Regions from separate parts of the Homo sapiens genome. Here region 2 is linked to region 1. Evidence: promoter capture Hi-C in human tissues and cell types (Jung and others, 2019). All regions are on one chromosome and are shown on one strand. Each heading gives the region's core, a stretch centred on a gene start or on the middle of the fragment in contact. The rest is flanking DNA. Distances are from core to core; before and after follow the strand shown.

Region 1 (3,113 bases), core at 225-2,724:
GGGAGAGAAGGGGAAAGACAGATGGGACAGAAAAGAACTGAGAGAGGCAGGAAGAGACCCTCCCCACCCCACTCCTGGACAGCCACAGACTGGCGCTAGAATCAGGGACAGGGAGGTAAGGAGGAATTTTTTTTTTTTTTTTTTTTTTTTTGAGACAGAGTTTCGCTCTTGTTGCCCAGGCTGGAGTTCAATGGTGAAATCTCAGCTCACCGCAACCTCCGCCTCCCAGGTTCAAGCGATTCTCCTGCCTCAGACTCCCTAGTAGCTGGGATTACAGGCATGTGCCACCACACCCGGCTAATTTTGTATTTTTAGTAGAGACGGGGTTTCTCCATGCGGGTCAGGCTGGTCTCGAACTCCAGACCTAAGGTGATCCGCCCACCTCGGCCTCCCAAAGTGCTGGTATTACAGGCATGAGCCACCGCGCCCGGCCATAAGGAGGATATTTTTATGCCGTTACAGAAAAAGATGAAAGCTCAGAAATGGAAGGGAGGTCGGAGAACCTGCAAAGGCATGCATGTGGGGTGAGGACTGCTCAGAGCTCAGAGAGGGGTGCTGGAAGGGACCTGAGAGGAAGCTTTGGTCCAACCACTCATTTCACAGATAGGGAAACAGGGGCCTGCGGACGGGTTGGTTTGCTCCTTGATTCCCAGGGCGCGCGGTCCTCCCCGAACCCAGCCTCGCTTCCCGCGCAGCGCCCAGCAGTCCCTGGCGCGGCGGGCCGGCCCTGCCCTCGCGAGCTTGCGGTCCGGTTGTGGAGGCCACCGGCTCCCTGGAAACATTTGGCTCCCGGCCGGGAGGCATGCCGCGCTCTCGGACCTGGGCTGGAGTAGGTGCCCTTGGCGGCCCTGGCTCGAGCAGTAATGGACTAGCCCCAGGGGGCGTTGGAAATGCTGCGACCCGCCCCCACATTTTTGCCCGAACGGAGACCCTCCGGGCTTTCACGGTCCGGCCTTCTACAGCGGCGGGGGAGCCGTGGCCTCTTGCAGGGCGCTCCGCGCGGTTCCCGACTACCCGGAGCCGAGGTGCGGGCTGAATCCTGCTGAGCTCCCCATGCTACCACCCCCGCAACCCCACTCTCCCGGGGCGGGTCTAAGAGCTCTTCGGGGAAATTCAAAGCACTACAGGGACCAACGTTTGCAGATGCTCTCCCTGCGCCGCGACCACCCTGTGCTTGGCCCAGTTCTCCCGGAGGCGTCCAGAGACTGGGCTCGTGCCGGGGGACGGAAGAGGGTGCGCCCCGGCGGATCCCTTCTTGGAGCCTGGACGTGAGCTGGCCGGTCCGGGGCTTGCAGACCTCCGGGAGGAGCTGCGGGGCTGAGCGGCGACCAGGAGGCCAGGCCGGGGCAGAGGACCGCCGAGGGCCACCGCGGGAGGCGCAGTCAGCTGCGTACAGGCTTGCGCCGCCGCGGGCCAAGACTCCAAATTGGGAAAGGGGTGGCCGCAGCTCTGCGCATGTGCAGGAGGCGCCGGAGTTTCACTTTGTAACTTTTAAGTGGTCGGAACACGCCCCGCGCTGCTGGGTCCCGCCAGACACGCCGCCGCCGCAGGTACAGGGGACAGGGGGCGTGAGGAGGGGCAATGCACCCTCCGCCTTTCCCGGGACGTGCGCGCCAGGTGTCCGGTTCCGGAACGGCTCCCAGCCTACGCAGACCCCAGAGCCCCCGACCCCAAGCAGGGGGTGACGACGCGGGATTGGGTGGGAGGAGAGGGTCCGGGCAGCGCCTCCATTCCAGCCCTGCGCTCCTTGGGAATTCCTGGCGGCTTTTCAGGACTTTCCTCTCCGGCTTTTCGCTTTCAGGGCTGGTATCTCCTTCTTCCCCACCCCTCTCTTTGGGATTTGTCGGCGGAGTCCGACCTCCCACCTAACTAGGAGTGCAGCTATGGGCTCCTCGGACCCTATACGAGGCCGGGCTGGGAAAGGGCCAAGCGTCCGACTCTCCTGACGCCAGGAAGGCAGAGGCCACCCCTCGGGCTGTTCCTGGGTGACCACTTCCTGCAGCCTTGGCGGAGTCCTGAGGAGGGAGGCTGGGGACTCGGGGACTGGGGGGAAGGGCGGGGGCGGAAAGGGTGAGGCGAGCTCTGCTAAGAAACCAAATCCGCAAAGGTTCCAGCACCTGATAAGACTAGCTACCTGAGGCCCTGGAGGGGCCTTGGTCATTCAGCCCCAGGCAGGTGGTGTCCTCTTCAAGGGCAGGGGTGGACAGCGTGGCGGACCCACTGACCCTCCCTTGACACCTCTCAGGTCATCCTCAAGTCTGCTGTGCCTTCAAGGGGGATATGAACGGAAGCCGAGGCTCCTTTTCCCTTCACACGCCCCTCTCCTTTGTTTAGTGTGGGGGCAAAGGTCTCTCCTAGCTGTTCGTTGGGCTCTAACAGAGAAGACGTCAGGTGGGATCCTGCCCTTGTGTTTCCCATTAGCTGGAGGGGCGACTTAAAATAAAGGCAGACAGCTTCTAATTGCTTGCTAGGGCCGGGTCCTGGGCTAAGTGCTTTACAGGTGTTGTTTGGGATCTGTGCCTCCCAACAGCTCCGTGAGAGAAAGTCATCACTCGCATTTCCTGGCGAAGGAAGCCAAGGCACAGAGTGGTTAGGCTGCTTGTCTGAACTGCGTGGTGCTGAGACCCTAACTCCAGAGCCTGCTCACATAATCCCTGAGCCACACTGCCTCTGGTTTCAGCCAGGGGCTGTGTCATTTCCTTTGTGCTCCAGGGTAGGAGGTAAACAGTTGTCCAGGTTACTGGGTCCTGTTTGGTGTTGCCATAAGGAGAAGTTTGTACTTTACTTTGCAACCTTATTCTGCATCTGAAAGACCAGAGTTAGCTCCTGAGGCAGAAGGCCTGGAGCTGCTTGTAGTTTCGCTATTGTCATCACAGGATTGAAAGATTTGGTGATGATAAAATTACCCTGAATTTGTACGGGCCTTCTTGCAAGAACGAACAATATCCATATACTTCCTGCAACATTCTGCTGGTATTTCTAGAGCTTGTCAAGTTGACCACCAGGCCAGTCCTTGCTGCCAATGGAGACTGGCAGTGGATTAGCATAGGTAGTTTACTTTGGCAAATTTAGACCAGCTGTTGGATTTAGCCCTCTCCCACTGGCCACAATCA
Region 2 (3,113 bases), core at 441-2,940, 540 kb after region 1:
TTAAGAAAAAGAATCAATGGAATTGATGAATCTCAGATAAACATTTCTTGAATATAATATATATTAGTTTCTAAAACATTCTTCTAAGGTTATAAGAAAAGATGATGAAAGCAATTAAAGAATTCAACCTTTACTTTAAAAAATAAAAATATATATTTAATTTTAAACAGGATGGATTGACTTCTCTGCATGAACTGTGAGGTGACTGTACTCAGGTTTCCTTCCACTTTCTGATTTTGATTGCTCATTCAGTGAGACCTCATCAGCAAGTAGTTTTTATTTGTTTTGTTTTTAATTCCCTGGGTTCTTTTATGTTTGAAATGGTCAATATTGCTCCCAGGATATGGGTGCTTCATGCCCTATCAAACTTGGTTTCCTCCCCTTTCAAAAATTATATTCTTATTATTACTATTGGTAAAATTTTGCCTTTTTAAAAAAACTAGCTTTTAATTTGTTTTACTACAGTATCTGGTAACAAATGGACTTGCCTTTCAGACCATGGGCTTTAGATTAGACAAATAATATGTAATCAGAAGTGGACATTATAATTGTGTAGAGAGCTTCGAAAATAAATATAAGCCAGGGCCCGATGTGCGGAAGTTCAGATTCAGTAAGTCTGTGGCGGTACCCACTGGGCATTTGTATTTTTTAAAAAGAAAGAAAGGTAATAAACTCTACAGATGATTTCTATACATACTCTTGAGGACTAAAGTGTTTGAGAAACCTTCAAGTTCCAGTGAGTCACAAGTTAAAATAGAAAGGCAGTCCATTGTTAGATAAACTGTATTTTATCACAGTTGACTTAGGGGCATACATCAGTGTGACTCAGGAATTTATGTTTCTTTAAGTTTAGATGCAGTAAAGATTGTGGTTTCTTAGATATTTTTTGTGCTGAAGAAGAAAATAATTTCTACTGCTACTTTAATTAAAAGCTTTTTTTGTTTGTTTGTTTGAAGGAGTTTTGCTCTTCTAACCCAAGCTGGAGTGCAATGGCACCATCTTGACTCACCGCAACCTCCATCTCCTGGGTTCAAGCAATTCTCCTGTCTCAACCTCCCAAGTAGCTGGGATTACAGGCATGCGCCACCAAGTCTGGCTAATTTTGTATTTTTAGTAGAGACGGGGTTTCTCCATGTTGGTCAGGCTGGTGTATTTTTAGTAGAGATGGGGTTTCTCCATGTTGGTCAGGCTGGTCTCGAACTCCTGACCTCGGGTGATCCACCTGCTTCGGCCTCCCAAAGTGTTGGGATTACAGGCGTGAGCCACCGTGCCCGGCCAACAGCATGTTTTAATGGGATACATAAAAGTCACTGGATTATTTTCTTTAAAAATATCTTTTAGTTATTAAGTCGGGTGTGGTGGCATGCGCTGGTAATCCCAGGTACTCAGGAAGTTGAGGCTGGAGAATTGCTGGAATCCAGGAGGCGGAGGTTGCAGTGAGCCGAGATTGCGCCACTGCACTCCAGACTGGGTGATGGAGTAAGACTGTCTAAAAAAAATAAAAAATAAAGAAAAATAAAATAAAATATCTTTTCATTATTAATACTTGGGGAAAACCCAATCATTGAGTCTCTGTAATCTAACTTGAGACATATAACAGATGTCTGTACCTGAAGTACAGGCATAGAGCCTTGGAGGGAACTAACTAGATTCCGTAAGATTTGTCTTAGAACTTATACCAGTTACAGGGTGGCAAATGTTCTACAACACAATGAGCTGAAGCAAAAGTGGAACTGAGGGACACCAAAATTCACAATATTTAAGTTTAGAAATGGGGTGATTCACCTACCTTTATCAGTTACCTGGTGGAAATGGAGATTTGGTATTTTTGGCTCAAATTCAAAATTTGGTTCTTATAACTTTTTATTCTATCCTTTGCAAAGATCTCTTACTATCACTAAATATCTTGACTTACCTAGTGCTTTCTGCAGTAAATTTAATGTTTTTTCCTCTAGTTCTTCAAGAGTTATGGCATCAAGGGAAATACTCTCCAGTAACTTGGAACGTTGATCTTCTAAATGAGGAACTTCATGAGTTACCACAGTAGACAAGAGTTGATCTTGCAAACCTTGGAATGTTACAGTGAAGTTGATCATAGTAACAAAGTTATAAACTGATGGAAGAAAATGGGGGTTGTCTATTTCTGTAGATAAGTATAACCTGAACATGAGAAAGGCACCAGTTATTCAAAGAACATGTAGAAGAAAAAAATGAACCAATTTATTTAAAAATACATAAAGCATTTTTCCTGGAAGTACACAAGATTTTTAGTGTTTTTCAGCTTTGTATACAAAGTACACTTTCAATTTATATTATATGAATACATTTGCATTGAAGTCTTAAAAAAATACAACCACAGACTGTGTACATACTATGTTTAGTTTACACATAAGGATGGAGTACAGAAAAATGTTAAATAGTAGAAGTTTTGACTTGCCACTAGATCATTGTGAAAACCATGGTTTTTACCTGAGTGAGTGAGAAGCCAATGGAGGGATTTGAGGAGTGACATGGTCTTTTTAAATCAGACTTCTCTAGCAGCTATCATTTAAAAAAAAATTTCAATAGCTTTAGAAGTAAAGCTACATGGATTAATTGTATGGTGGTGAAGTCTGAAATTTCCGTGCACCCATAACCTGAGCAGTGTACATTGTACCCAACATGTAGCAGCCATCTTGAGAATAGCCTGGGAGGAGAGGCAGAGGAGGAAGAGGGAAGCTGGCAGACTGGGTTACATGTGAGAAATGATGGTGGCGTGGAGCAGGGTGGTGTCAGCAGCAGTCATAGTGAAGAGTGGGCAGATTAATAAAGCAGAGACAATACTTCATTCCACTTTATGAAGGGTGAAATTGAAGCTTAATGATATTAAACAAATTGCCCATATCACATGGCCAGAAAATGACAGAGTGAGGTCTATCACTGAAGCCTGCCCTCTACAACAGTGCCCTCCAGCAGCTTCTCAACACACATTCCTAACATGGGGACCATGTTGTCTATTCAGGAAAATGTAACTTCATTAGCATTTTTAGCACTGTTACTTAATCAAGCAAATTATATCTAGCAAGAAAAAAGAATGGGTTAATGCAGTGTTTTCCAAAGTGTAGTCTATACAA

Evidence for each region. The method cuts DNA at HindIII sites, captures the fragments that hold promoters and counts their contacts. A contact is called where the count stands out against the background at its distance.
Region 2: a contact is called between a fragment that was not itself captured here and the fragment with the promoter of TMEM63A in region 1, in 1 of the 25 tissues and cell types used here (spleen).

What each region holds. Positions count from the first base shown.
Region 1 is chr1:225,880,741-225,883,853 of GRCh38, reverse strand. It overlaps TMEM63A (transmembrane protein 63A), which reads left to right and starts at 1,474. Exons shown (of 25, transcript NM_014698.3): 1 at 1,474-1,550. RefSeq lists enhancers at 556-605, 666-715, 2,918-3,113 and silencers at 1,226-1,385, 1,946-2,065. The HindIII fragment of the contact is 9,047 bases long and covers 1-3,113 here.
Region 2 is chr1:225,339,504-225,342,616 of GRCh38, reverse strand. It overlaps DNAH14 (dynein axonemal heavy chain 14), which reads right to left. Exons shown (of 86, transcript NM_001367479.1): 69 at 1,916-2,160. Among named protein-coding and RNA genes, the nearest start is that of LBR, 87 kb to the left of the region's middle. The HindIII fragment of the contact is 4,973 bases long and covers 1-3,113 here.